Regions from separate parts of the Homo sapiens genome. Here regions 1, 3 and 4 are each linked to region 2. Evidence: promoter capture Hi-C in 16 types of primary human blood cells and fetal thymus (Javierre and others, 2016). All regions are on one chromosome and are shown on one strand. Each heading gives the region's core, a stretch centred on a gene start or on the middle of the fragment in contact. The rest is flanking DNA. Distances are from core to core; before and after follow the strand shown.

Region 1 (3,538 bases), core at 745-3,244, 310 kb after region 2:
TTTAAGTTCCCTGCCCTTTTGATATTATTTTTCTGTTGGTTTTTTTTTTTTTTTTTTTTTTTTGAGAGTTGGAGGCTTTCTGAGGTAAGATGGATCCTTGGAACATATGAGCTATGGTTACTAAGAAAAAATAAAAACTAGTAGTACACTTTATTGGCTGTATGCTGGAGGTGGAAGGAGCATACACTGTTTGCTAAACACCGTGCCAGCAAATGGGATTTCAACATGAGTAAAACAGTCTTAACCCTTAAGACAATCACATTTGAGCCAAGGAGGCAGAGTTGGTGCCCACTGTTAGGATTACCATTACTTAACCTACCTATTGTCCTTGAACATTTTCTTATGGTTGCATGTATTTGGCTTGGTTTCCTCACTCCTGACTTAAAGGATTGTAAAATATCCAAGAGCTTTATTTTTTACTTAAATGCTTATTTTTTGTCACTAACTTTCCATTTGGGTTATATTCTTTTATTTTAAATACATATAGGAATTACTCAAGGTGATGAGGACAATTGATGACAGAATAGTACATGAATTAAACACTACGGTTCCAACAGCTTCCTTTGCAGGGAAAATTGATGCCAGCCAAACCTGTAAACAACTTTATGAGTCTGTAAGTGTATTTTTTGAGTCTTTTGCTTCTTTCATGCCTTTCTTTGCAGGCTGAATAAGAAATCAGTTATCTTGTAACTCGACTGTGACTAAAGGAATGACATCTTTTCTTTGCCTATACCTGATGGTGTATATAAGTTTTGATCTGGTTACTACACATTAAAGAAAATGTGTGACCTTACGCTTGTGAAATCTTACCAAACCTGGGAAGAAATGGTTCTAAAGAATGGGAGCAGTTGTTTTGTAGCCTTTAACTTAAGGAGACCTTATGTACAAAGGAATGAAAGGAGGAGAGTGAAACAGTGAAGTAAAACAGTAACAAGAGCAAGGAATGTGAGCACGTCAGTCCTAAAAAGCCAGGCAGCTGGTACAAGGAAGAATTAAAACCCTTCACACCTTTAAACCTTCTTTTTCTCACTCCTCAGGAAGGGGAATAGAAGCATTTGGCAACTGGGAGAGAAGGAAAGCCAGTGGATCAGTTGTCCTTTCCTGAGGCTTTGGTTTCTCAAGTATACATTTTTCATTGCCCCCCTTTATTTCTCTTTTTTAGTCTCCAAAAGCAGAAGGAAATAATGATGCAGCAAAATCTTTTTTATAGTTTATTTACCTATATTCTTTTAGTAATTTGGAAGCTAAAGTTCAAATGACACTTGCTATTTTAAGCTCTACCACAAGGTTACTGTTTGGATTCATAGTCGTAAAGAAGGCATCCTTAAAACCTAAACTGCCTTTCTCAGATCAGTTTTGGACAAGCTTATCCATGTCAGTTAAATTCAGAGCATTAACTACTGATATTTTTGTTCTGTGTTAAAGTATGTTATTTTAAATGAGCAGGTAAGTCTTCTTTGAGAAAATCATAAGATTGTGGACTTTAATGAGTAGAATTCAGTATTGGGAGTCGACAGGATGGGACCTAGTCCTAATTGGCTATGAGGTTGTTTGACAGTTCACTTTCTTTGGGTACCTCTGTCTGAAGAACTAGAATTTATGGTCACTTTGGTGATACTCCCTCTCTCACCTCACTACTCATATAATCTCCATAATCTATAAAATTGTTTCCATTTACAATCTTCCTATTAACCTAGACGTTTATAGTGTAGTGATTAACAATATGGACTCTAGATCTAGATTAATCTCACATCTGCTACCTCCTAGCTGGGTAACCTTGATTATGTCACATAACCTCTGCCTCAGTTTTTTTTTTTTTTTTTTTTTTTTTGAGACAGTGTCTCACTTTGTCACCCAGGCTGGAGTACAGTGGCAGAATCTCAGCTCAGTGCAGCCTCCACCTCCTGGGTTCAAATGATTCTTGCACCTCAGCCTCCCAAGTAGCTGGGACTACAGGCACACGCTACCATGCCTGGCTGATTTTTTTTGTATTTTTTGGTAGAGATAGGGTTTTCACCCTGTTGGCCAGTCTGGTCTTGAACTGCTGACCTCAAGTGATCCACCCGCCTTGGCCTCCCAGAGTGCTGGGATTACAGGCGTGAGCCAACATGCCCGGCTGTCTGCCTCAGTTTTAATATTTGTAAAATAGTATAATAATGGTACCTAGTTCATAGAGTTGTTGGCGCATTGAATTATAAAGTGCTTACAGTACTAAGTGTTTTGTATACAAATATTGCTGGCCAGGTGCAGTGGCTCACACCTGTAATCCCAACACTTTGGGAGGCTGAGGTGAGAGGATCACTTGAGTCCAGGAGTTCAAGACAAGCCTGGGTGACATGGCGAAACCACATCTCCACAAAAAATACAAAAATTAGCTGGACGTAGTGGTGTGCGCCTATAGTCCCAGCTACCTGGGAGGCTAAGGCAGGAGGATTGCTTGAGCCCAGAAGGCAGAGGTTGCAGTGAGCCAAGATCACACCACCACAGTCCAGCCTGAGTGACAGAGCAAGACCCTGTCTCAAAAAAATGTTTGCTGCTACTGCTATCATTTTTTTTTTAACAGGCCCTGTGAGAATCACAAGTTGTTGTTTTTTATCTCCTTGTTGAATCAGGATAAGCTTGCATACTAAATTTAGAACTCTTCTGTTTTGGAAATCCTGTGTGTGTGTTTGAGTTTTTCTCTGTATCTATATCCTGGAAGGATTCAGCAACATGTATATCAAGTAAAGCTTAATTTTTCAAGTAGCTTTGTGCCAGGGATCGAGCCTGCAGCAGAGTGCCCATACCAATAAGCACCACTGAGTTCCCTTAAGTATTATGTCAGTCAAGAAGCAGAACTCTATGAAATATCCAAGTTGCTCATGTTCACCCTGACTTTAATCCCTGACCCAGCTTCCTTCTGTAGCTGAAGAAGGGATATTTGCCTTTTCAAATAACGCTTCTTCCTAGGAGTTGATCAGTAAGGTTATTATGAAGCACTCATTTTAGAAATTTCAAATCTCAAAAGTATACTCAAGGTAAAACTTGTAAATTTCAATGAGATCTTATTAGAGCATATTCCCTTCAATCTATGACATTTTTCTAGCTTTACATTGTTTATTCCCATGGTAAACATAAAAATCAATACTGAACAATAGAGTCTATGAACTTGAAACAATGTTTAACAAATGCAGATTTTGGGGTATTATCAAAATGTGGCTATGATTATGGAAGTATGTTTGAAACATGACCATGATACTTTAGAATCAAGATGGGAAATAAATGAGAAATGTTTTTATTAATTTGTTGCATTAAGATGGAGGTTATCAAGAGTTGTTCTGTCAGACATCCTTAATTTCAATAAGCACACACAATTGATGCAACCACTAATCTGTGCTTCATATATAAGTTTTCCTTATCAATACTTATATTTTATAATCTTGAAAAGGGCTCTGTCTTGCGAAGGTAAAGGTAGCATTCTTTGTTATTTATTGTAATGAAATCTTCTATACATGACTTAGTTTATAATTTCTTTCACTTGTTGACAATGTGAGACAGG
Region 2 (3,608 bases), core at 148-2,647:
AAAAGTGACACCCAAAAGAGAAATGACTAATATCACACAGTTGCCCTTCTGAGCACTCCTTGGTAAAATTAATCCTAGGAAAACATGGTATTTTGTTTTCATAAGGGCCATGAGCCAAGCATATCTCCTGTCCCCCTCCTTCCTTCCTTCTGTGCGCCATTCTTTTTCTGTTTCATTTTTCCTTTTTGGATCCCTGCTTGGGCACTCTAATTGCATGGCCTCAGCCTCAGCCTCCTTGCCTCTCCTCTGGCCCGAATGCTTCTCCAAATCTAGCGACATGAAAGCGGAATTAGGGGTTGACTAGATCCCGATAGGTCATCATCCATAAGATGCCAGTGGAAAAGGTGCCCATTCTGGGAGCTGCAGGTCACTGGCTTCCCATTGCAGACCAGGGAGGCCCTTGAGCCAGCAGATCACCTCTGGGCTCTTGGCCCACCAAGTAGTGGTGGGTCTGTAAGGAGGGAACTTTGCCGACTTTCCCTCCAAAGCTCAAATCTCCCAACCCACAATCACTTCAGAATATCATCCTTGCTCCCAATCTGAGGGCCACTAGAGACTCGGAGAAGAGGCCCCGGCAGGCCCTCGACAATGGGCACCTGTGGTCGATCGACAGCCCCTCCAATGTGGCCGCTGTGACGGCTCTACGTTGACATTCAGGCAGTGTGATTTTAGGTAGCGCCTCTGCCCCTCTCCCAAGTGACCCCGGGACCCCTGGGAATCTCCAAGAACCACAAGGAATCTCTGTGACTTGCCACGTTTCTTAATCAGTTTCCTTCCCCACACAAGAATAATAACAACAGGAAAAGACAGAAAAGGATGATAAGAGGATAGACTCACTTCCACAACAACAACAACAAACAATAACACCACCACAACAGGGAAAGACAGAAAACGATCGAGGGATAAAGAGTTACTTGCGCGGTTCCGCCGCCACCTCCGGGCCGCGCCATTAAGCGCCTGGAAGCGCAGGGCGCCGGGGAACCGCAGCGCCCCGGGTGCGCTCGGAATCCATTCTGCCGCCCCCGCCCCCGCCCCCGCCCCGGCCACCTCCGCTACAGCAGCCGCCGAAGTCGGGCGGGTCACCCTCCCGTGCGTGCCCTGCCGCCATTTCCCTGGAGGGAGGGCAGAGGTGCCCCCTCCTCACCCCACCCCTCGCGCCCCTCACCGTCCTCCGGGTAGAAGAACACCAGGAAGCGGGATGGGCTCCTGGGATCCTGGCGGACCTCACACTCGCCGCCTCCCGACCTCTTCGGGCTCTGGAAGTACATCTGCAACTTGGTGTTCAAGTTCTTCGGGGGGTCGGGGCCCCAGGAGCCCTCGACCAGCAGCGGGAAGGAGCCGGGCACAGCCATCCTCAGCTCCGCTCTCCGCCGGACTGCAGGGGCCGCGCCAACTCCGGGCCGCTAACTTTGACTCTTTCGCTTTCGTTTCCTGGAAAACTCCCAGGCCTTGGTTTCCTTTTGCCTTCAGCCTAACACAGCGGACCCAGGAATGGCAGAGTCATCCCCCGCCCACCTCCCCACCTTCGCATTCGGCCCACAGCCAAGGCCAAAGTAACCCTTTGGGGCTGGCCAGCGGCGCCCCGGGAAGGCGGCCTCAGTTCACCTGTGCTCCACGGGCTCCCACACCCCCTCCTAACTCCGGGCCCCCTACCTGCCGCTCGCCCCAACCGCAGATCAAGTCGGCAGCTTTGGGGCACCAGACCTTGCCCAAACGCAAAGATCATTTAATTTTTGCCGCAAGCCGACCCTTTACAAAAGAATAAAATGACTCACAAACTGTGGCCCCTTTAGAATGTTTGCTGCCTATTTGGGGACTTTTTCAGCAATCATTGTGATTATCAGAATTTTACGTTGCTTTCCCTGTTTTGCTTTCTGTTCCTTGATCTGTTAATACTACATGTCTAGAAATGTGGGGGAAACAATTACACTCACAGTTTTTTTTGTGGAATATTTACTAGGCGCCATGCACTCACTCACTGAACCCTCGCTGAGCTCACGGAGCTATGGTGAACACAGTGGGCAATAGGTGCTCTGGGAAAGAATATACTTGTGTTCCTGGAACAGATGAGGAGTGGCTCCTAGTCCAGCTGTGGCGGCTCAGGGAGGGTTTATAGGGCGGTGACATGTAACCTGATAACCCCAGGATATCAGGGGATAGCCTTGGAGGGTTAGGAAGTGGGGTTCCACGGTGTGATTCACATGTACAGGATCACTCCGGCTGCTGCGTGGTGGCTAGAGTGGAGGCAGAGAGATCAGCCAAGTGGCTACCATAGTGTCCTAAGTGAGAGACAAGGGTGGCTGAGACTGGGGTGCTGGCAGAGAAGAACTGAGAAAACGAGGATTCTCAATTAATAGTGAAAGCAGGACTTGCTGAAGAATGTGAGCCTTGAGAGAAGGAGAAGCTCAAGGATGACTCCATGGTCAGCCATGGATGGCCCGTGCAAGTGGCTGGATAATAGTGGCATCTGCAAGAGGGGAGGCCGAGTGATGGGAGAGAAGCTGGGGCTGTGTGTTTCCTTGACCCCAAATAAAGCAGTGTTGCAAGTCGAGGGGGGCGGGGGGATTATCATTCCAGTGCTACCGATACCTCAGGTCAGAGAAGTGTCTGCTGGACTGCTGAGGAGCGGCAAGCATAGTCTCCTGGTGAGGAGGGAGGAGAGGGAGATGGCAGCTACTGAAGACTGAAAGGGAGGGAAGGAAGTGGAAGCAGAGAGCGTAACACGCTCTTTGCAGAAATGTGACCGTGAAGGGGAAGAAGGAGCCAGGCAGTAGGTTGTGGGGTTACAGGATCGGGCTGAATTTCAGAATGAAGAGAACCAGAGATGGGCCAAATGGTTTACCTGGCTTTTATTTCGGCTCTGTAATAATCCTAAACAGTACACAGATATTTTCTCCTGCCTCCAGCTTGCTACCTGCAGATGGCGCTCATCATCTGATCCAAAACTGCTCTGGACCCCCGCATGCGGAAGACGGGAGGACAAGCGCCCTCAGCCAGACTTGGTGACTGTTTCTCCCCAGGGCCTTTACATCTCATCCCAAACCACAACTAAAATCAGCACTCCTCCTCTCCCACTCTCCCCTGAGTTTGGGGTTCCAGAACTCAGCAAAAAGTTTCCCTTTTTCCTCACATAATTATTGTATAAGAAATAAAGTCAGAGGCATTTCTGGATTACTTTCGAGGATTTATTTAATTATCGACAATGTGTCTTACCACCGAGGTCTGCTTATCATGCCTGGGTGGACTGGGAAGGAGCTATCAGAGGATCAGGATGGCAGGTCTTGAAAGCCAAGGAAAGAAAGTTCTAGAAGGGGCAAATTGTTGAACGGCATTAGCTCCTGCAGTACTTTGTTTTCTGCAAGTTATTTTTGCCTTGTTCACTTGAAGAATGCGTATCCTCTCACAATTCTCTGTTTCCTGTGGGTATCTGCCTTCTGATCCTTTCTTCCTGGGAAGCACGTGTCTTCTCAGGGCCTGGGGTGGGGGTGGCCTGCTGTAGAAGTGGCCGTGTTCCTTGATTCTCCTTCTACTTCACAGCTACAGCTCATCTTAATGTAACAGCCCATGTCTGCATTTTTGGGCTGAACTTCCCTTTCCCTACTTCATCT
Region 3 (3,558 bases), core at 253-2,752, 270 kb after region 2:
AATAAGAGTTACCTGAACACTAGCACTGATTCCACGACAGCTGATCTCGTAACAGAGACGGCTAGCACATACAGTGTGAATACACCAGAGAGAGGGATGATTCACATCCCAGGTGGATGGAACAGATTGGCAAGAGATTTCATCATGCTACACTGAATGGTATGTAATCTATAACTTATGCATTGTTATAGGAATTTTCCATTTAATATTTTCAGACCTCAGGTAACTGAAACCACAGAAAACAAAGCCGTGGATAAGAAGGGACTACTATAATGGCTTGTCATCCATGAATAATTAAGAAGCATGTGAGAATCAATGTTTAAAATAGAAACCTGTATTCATACCTAAATATGAGACAACTCGATATCCCAAGGTCAAACTGTAAATGAGATATATATGAGGTGCAAATACTTCTAACAGTAATAATACATGAGATTTTTATAATTGAGAAATTTAGTTTCTCAGGTGGTAAGAAAACAGCCAGTTGAGAATTCTAAGGCATGAAGCTAAGAGGTGACTTGTGTTGACCCCAAGCAACTCCATGACGCTGGGATTTCTAAGTCCTTAGAAATTCCTGGCTGGACCTTGTCAGAATGTTTAAAAAACTATTCTCCTAAAAGCCTCCATCTGCCAGCATGTTCAAAGATTATAGAATGTGGTCTGGCTGCTTCTCAGCGCTCGCTCTATTAGGGGGCAGCCTCCCCACCAGTACACCAGGACATTTGAGAAGGCTGGCCCTCCAAGCTGCACCTGGGCCATATACTCAACTGGCCTTCCTTATCTCCTCAAAATGAGTTCGCCTGTGGAGAGGTTACTTTGATAATGGGAAGAGAAGTAAGATATGGTACCTGCTTCTCTGAAGAGTTGGTATTCAAGTTGAAATAAATTGTTTCATTTTTCTCCAAAAGGCTGAGAGGCTACACTTGACTTGGATCAAAACAATAAAACACAGTCATTATTTAAGAAAATTTATTTCTACTTCTACAGCAGAAATACGGAAATGGTACAGGTTTGGGCAAATCATACTTTATGAAATGGATCCTCATACCACATCCTTTTTAATACAGGCACGTTATAACATAATTCCTGGATTTTCAAAATCCAGCCAACACGGATACCTCTGCTACTCTGTTTTGGCCTTCATAGCTGCTTCCTCTTTCAGACGAGCTTTCTTTTCTAAGTTCAAGCTTGTTAAAGTCTCGTGTCTTTGGGCAGCCTAAAGCAAAACAGATTTGAACAGGTGATTTGTATGCTGGTCAGGGGAGGGTGTCTTTACCTTGCACTGATGACAGCAGGTTAACAGAGGCATGGAGGCATGGAGTCCTCTGCTGCTTGCACACTGAGCACGGCAGTTTCCTCTATGTGCTTCAACTTCCTCGTACGCTTCCAAGAACAGCAGCTCATCCACTCAAGCATAAGTAAGAAGTGCCACACCTCTCCTTTTTCTTCCCTTCTGGCCCCTTTCTTTCAGTCTTTATCCTCTCCTTTTCTCTTATACTTTCTTCTCATTCCACCCCACTTCTCTTTTATACTAAATACCTTCTCATTGCCATTTCTATCCCGTTTTTCTTCTTTCACTTTTCTCTGTTGCTGCCATTTCTCCTTCCCCAACTTATCTGCATACTCAGATCCTTCTAGTTCCTCACTTCTCTTTTACCAAAAACATTCAGCTTTGGGAATCCCAGACTTTACCCAAATACTACCATTGATGATTTCCACGAGTATCTGTACTACAATTCCAACCTTTGAGTGGGGGAGGCAACCGTCCTCTTCCCTTGTTTCCCTCCATGTAAACGGTCAGATTTCTATGAAGCTTACATACAGGCCAGTTTCAACACTTTTATACCAAATAGTGAAACTAGCACCCTAAGCTGATATTTCCTTCTATCTGTGTAATTTCATATGTAAAAGAATTGGGTATGTGGCGGGGGGTGGGGGAGCGGGGGGAGAAAGGGAAGTTGATGGTGAGAGCAAAATATACAATGGCTAATTTTTCTCTTCCAAATCACATTGAGTTCAAAAGTTCTCCATTCCAGTAGTATTTATGGAAACAGAAATTCCATAAAACTAAAATGTTACAATTTTATGGTAAAGAACAGGAGAAGAACTCTCTAAAATACACAGCATATACCCCTGGATGATGCTAGAAGAGATTCCAGGTGAATAATTTGCTTCTGGAGTATTTAAACTCAGCTAGTACAATCGAGTATACAAAAGCAATGCAAATTTCTCAGAATCCTAGAAGCTCACAGTCCTGTCCACATGTTTCTGCTGGTTTTAATCTGAGAACTATGCATGAGAGGTCAAAGAGGGAGACAAGAAAAAATGAAGTGGGGTGGGAACAGAGTTTTCAAGAGAACTTCACCCAGCTCAGCACATTTGCCCCTTCGTACTCCCATGAGGTCAGCCTAAAATGGTCAGTATTTCCATTTAACTGCAAGAATGAAGACAGCCAAAAGTACATTTCCTTTTACTCTGGAATTACTGAGGATAAGAAAGTCAGTTAAGAGTGCGTGTATAGAAGGACCTTTTTAGTATCTTAAAGTAGTTGTAAGACATCACTTTCCACATGGAAGCTGTGATATATAGAATTATACATGGTATTAAAAGAAGAATTTGACCAAAGCTGCTGAATATAAAAATAACTATGGCTTAATAGCAAGATAGTATAGTATGAGGTTTGGTAACCTGCAAACTTGGGTCTAGATTTTTATCTTGCCACTTGTTAGCTGTGTGAGTTTGGGAAAACTATTTACCTCTTAGGGTTATGGGGGTGATTAAGTGAGCTTAACAGTGCCTGTTACATAATAAGCACTCAATAAATGGGAGGAATTTTCCTATTACCTGAATTGGGTCTAGGTTCACACTGTGGCTCGTCATTAAGGAGATATGTGGCCTTGGGCAAGTTACTAAAGCTTTCTAAGCTATAGTTTTCCTCATCTATAAATCAGGTCCTAATAATACTTATCTTACAGTGTTTTTGTGAGGTTCAGATGAGATACCAGCTAGAAAAGTACCTGGAATGCAGTGAGTGTTCAATTAGTGATAGCTATTAATTATAATCTGTGCTAAAGATTTCTGGACTTGTATTCCTATGTACTGCTTAGGAGCTGTGGTCCTTAGACACATGGCCCTGTCTGGCTGAGCTTCAAATAAAGAACCCCGCTAAGAAAGCTCACCATGCTGAAGGCAGTTATGGTGAGGGTAAATACACTTGGGTACCAAGAGCACTCTGGAAATATGCAGTGGGTGATTAAATATGCCAGTGTCCTATTTCTTAATTTACATTATGACACCTGTCATCAGAAACACTTTTTAAATTTACATTACACAAAATGAATCTAGTCCTTCTTCACCACGCCAAAGTTAGGATTTGCTATCTATCCCCAAGGATGATATTCCAGGCTTGTTCCCAATATGTCTTATTTTTTTGCTTATCTTTTCTCATGTAATGTAGAAAGTAGCCTCCTCTTCTCAGAGGGTAAATACAAGGGTCAATCCCTGATTTACTCTAGGTTCTTGGTGGAGAACATACATACTGGATAGAGAAGAAACCCC
Region 4 (3,637 bases), core at 642-3,141, 290 kb after region 2:
GCGATAATGCCAGACCTTCTCTCAAAAATAAAATAAAATAAAATTTTAAATTTTAAAAAGTTATCGCTAAAAAATGTCTGAAGTATTTGATGTGGTCTTGGTTTTTATTTTGCAATTATAACAACATGAAAGCATAAACAAACTTTAATATCATTACTAAGACCTTCGTTTTCTCTCAAAGAGACAGAATATATTGACCAGACGTCCAAGCCAGAAATTTTCCATCCTCTGGTGGATCACGATTAAAAACATACAAACCAAAAGAAAAACAGCCCTTTAACCCTCTAGCTGGACTTAACAGCTTGTCCCTGGCTGACCAATTCTGTGTCTCCAGGGCCCTAGCAGGAAGTTAAGATGAAGCCTCACAGCTGTCTCTAAGGCTCTGGGTGGCAAACGGCTAATCTTAAGAGTAAAGGTTCTTAACTTTTTTATCTATCGAAATCACCTGGGGGACCCTGTGAAACAGATTACTGGACCCAACTGATACAGTCAGTATGGACAGAACCTGAGAATGTGCACTTCTAACAATTGCCCAGGTAATGGTGAAACTTCTGCTATGGGGGACCCATAATCTGAAAACCAGTGCCTTAGAAATATCATTGCTAGCTGGAGGCTATAGTGGTCAGCCAGGGTGAGGCTGGTTGAAGTACCAGCTTCTCTCCTGGTAGTCCCCTCCTTTCCATAAATATCCTTTCCAACCCCATGATAGACAGTGAGGAAAGGTAGGGATGCTTTTTCTTTCTCAGAATCTTTCAAGGTCCTCTTGGAGAAAACCATAGGTGATGTGACTGGAGATATGACAACTCTCTGGGAATCAGAGAATCAATATTACAACCCACTCCCCAGAGTGTCTATCTGAAACTCTCTAGGCCTTAGCTGTTGACCTGGGCTTTGTGACAGAAACAGACTCCCTATATCCGTTTTCTCATCCTTCCCTGCAGGCTTGAAGAAATACCAGTCTTCCTTTATTCTTAAGTAGTAATCCCTCTGCTGAGGGATGTCGTACCAAACTTATCCTTATTTTCCACTGCCTTTTTCCTGCCAAATGTTATCTCCCCCATCTTTAAAATCAAAACTAAAAAACTTATTTTTTTTTTTAGAGACAAGGTCTCACTTTGTCACCTAGGGTAAAGGGCAGTGGAGAGATCATAGCTCACTGTAACTTTGAACCGGGCTCAAGCGATCCTCCTGTATCATCTTCTGGAGTAGTTGGGACCACAGGCAGATGCCACCATGTCTAGCTAATTAAAAAAATTTGTTTTGTAGAGATCGGGTCTCACTATGTAAAAACCTTTGTACCACCAAGTTGTTACACACCATGTTATGTAAAAAGCTTTTAGTAAAACAAACTTTAAATGATAAAAGTAACACTTGCTCATTACAGAAAATTTGGAAGTTAAAAAAAGATGTGAAGAAAAATAAAAGCACTCATAATCATAGCACTTAGGGATAACAACTTGGTGCATTAATATTTCTTTTCAGACCTTTCCTATACTTACATAAAACATATACATTTTTCATAATCAGATAATACTGTATCTTGCTATGTCACAAATACTTTCCAAGATATTAATACTTTTAATAGCTGTATAAAACCCGACACACAGCTATAATCTGAATGTAGTAATTCCCTACAACTTGATTTCTTTCCAATTTTTCAGTGTTATAAGTAATGTTTCAATGAACAGTTCTCTACATACATCTTTGATGGTATTTCTGATTATTTCCTTAGAATAAAATCCTGGAAGTGAAGGGTAAAAGGGTATGAACCCCTTTAAGTTTCCATCTATCTATCTCATCTATCTATCTATCTATCTATCTATCTATCTATCTATCTATCTATCTATCTATCCATCTATACTACTTTCCAGAAAGGCTGACTACTTCTCCAGTAACTTCTACTAGTAGTTACTGAGAATTCTGTCTTATTACTCTACAATAACACTGAAGGTCCACTATGTTGGACAAAGCATTCACTTGTTCTCAACAGGTACTATTAATAAAATTCTTATTTCCTCTTTTTCATAGCTCAAATGATTGAATAAATGGCATGTATCTACTACTTCACTTCACCACCCACACTTTATTTTGCTACAATGTTTCCTTCTCCAATCATTTTACTAAAATTACTCTACCAACATTAGTGACCTCTTTCTAGTCATATGAATACATTTTTTTTTTTTTTGAGACGGAGTCTTGCTCTGTTGCCCAGGCTGGAGTGCAGTGCTGTGATCTCAGCTCACTGCAAGCTCTGCCTCCCGGCTTCACGCCATTCTCCTGCCTCAGCCTCCTGAGTAGCTGGGACTACAGGCGCCCACCACCACGCCCGGCTAATTTTTTGTGTTTTTAGTAGAGACAGGGTTTCACCGTGTTAGCAAGGATGGTCTCGATCTCCTGACCTCGTGATCCGCCCACCTCGGCCTCCCAAAATGCTGGGATTACAAGCTTGAGCCACCGTGCCCGGTCATGAATACATTTTTTTAGATTCTCATCATTAGCCCTTCTGACTCTACTCTTCCCATTTTTGTGGCCATTTGATTCGACTGATCTCATCTTTCTACAAGGATTCAATGCCTCCTTACATTGTACCACCAAATTCTCTCACTTCATCTCCAACCTCTATGACCAATCTTCTTTAATGTCTTCTTTCCCAGTTCCTATTATTTACACCATGTCACACCTCCAAGGCTTAGTCCTTGCTTCTATTCTGTGCTACTCTCTGGAAGGACTCCTCCATTCTGTTTTAAAAATCAACTCCAGACTAATTGCTCCCATATCTTTATCTCCATAACTTTACTCTTCCTTTGCCCTCAGGTCTTCAACCTCTCACAACCTATAACTCAGTGCCACCTAAACCTACTCAATAATGCACCATCTTCTCTGCCAAACTAACACAAATCTTTGATGGCGTTTCTGATTATTTTTCCAACTTTCTTATTTCTGACAATGAGGCAATACTTCTGTAGTCCTCAACATTAAAAAACTTGTCTTTAAGTCCTTCCTTACTCAGTATCTCCAAACTCATCCTTTCTTCAAGACACTTCCTAAATATATTCGTTATTTCCATCATCACCTCACACATCAGTTACTGTAATATCTTCATAGGTAGCAGCAATTCAACTGGTATGTAGTTGCTGAGTTAATTTTCCAGAAATGTTTCTTGTGTTACTTCTCCTGCTAAAAGGTTTTTTTGGTCCAAATTCATTTGGTTCAAACGTCTCCAAACACTACACTTTACCTCCTATTGCCTCCTGATCAAAATCCCTAAGGTAATCTTTCCTCTCTCATATCCTTTTTCAGACTCATTACCGCCCCTACATGTGCTCACAACTCATTACCGCCCCTACATGTGCTCACATCACTCTCACACCCCTTCATTTCAATGGAGCCTTCAAGAATCTCAGAATTCTTGAAGCCAATGGTATATTATATATGTTTGTTTGTTCATTGCAATAAATCAGCCCTAGGAGTGGGGCAGTCCATTCATTTTAGAGCCTTCACAGTATACACACAGGGCATCCATTGTGTACTCAATAAATACTTGGCAAGACCTGGAAAGGAGCAATAAGTAAAGCCAAATGTGGGGGTAGTTAAAATGCGTACGTTCTCATTTAGGTTTGGTTAGCAAGAACAAACA

What was found. Contacts are between HindIII fragments. The CHiCAGO score rates a contact against its expected background, and 5 or more counts as called.
Region 1: a fragment that was not itself captured here is called in contact with the fragment with the promoter of PARP14 in region 2 in 3 of 17 cell types (non-activated CD4 T cells, activated CD4 T cells and naive CD4 T cells); the score reaches 5.8 in non-activated CD4 T cells.
Region 3: a fragment that was not itself captured here is called in contact with the fragment with the promoter of PARP14 in region 2 in 11 of 17 cell types (activated CD4 T cells, total CD8 T cells, naive CD8 T cells and 8 more); the score reaches 9.9 in activated CD4 T cells.
Region 4: a fragment that was not itself captured here is called in contact with the fragment with the promoter of PARP14 in region 2 in 2 of 17 cell types (activated CD4 T cells and total CD8 T cells); the score reaches 6.7 in activated CD4 T cells.

What each region holds. Positions count from the first base shown.
Region 1 is chr3:122,368,750-122,372,287 of GRCh38, reverse strand. It overlaps MIX23 (mitochondrial matrix import factor 23), which reads left to right. Exons shown (of 5, transcript NM_001017928.4): 2 at 488-613. Among named protein-coding and RNA genes, the nearest start is that of MIX23, 13 kb to the left of the region's middle. The HindIII fragment of the contact is 1,253 bases long and covers 1,368-2,620 here.
Region 2 is chr3:122,678,628-122,682,235 of GRCh38, reverse strand. It overlaps PARP14 (poly(ADP-ribose) polymerase family member 14), which reads right to left and starts at 1,397. Exons shown (of 17, transcript NM_017554.3): 1 at 1,166-1,397. The coding sequence starts at 1,352. RefSeq lists enhancers at 659-748, 1,290-1,689, 1,114-1,886, 2,290-2,409 and a silencer at 1,000-1,049. The HindIII fragment of the contact is 13,941 bases long and covers 1-3,608 here.
Region 3 is chr3:122,407,397-122,410,954 of GRCh38, reverse strand. FAM162A (family with sequence similarity 162 member A) reads right to left here. Exons shown (of 5, transcript NM_014367.4): 5 at 1-1,216. The coding sequence ends at 1,124. Among named protein-coding and RNA genes, the nearest start is that of WDR5B, 6.9 kb to the left of the region's middle. The HindIII fragment of the contact is 626 bases long and covers 1,190-1,815 here.
Region 4 is chr3:122,387,597-122,391,233 of GRCh38, reverse strand. The region is part of intron 1 of FAM162A (family with sequence similarity 162 member A); the gene reads right to left. Among named protein-coding and RNA genes, the nearest start is that of FAM162A, 5.2 kb to the right of the region's middle. The HindIII fragment of the contact is 1,112 bases long and covers 1,336-2,447 here.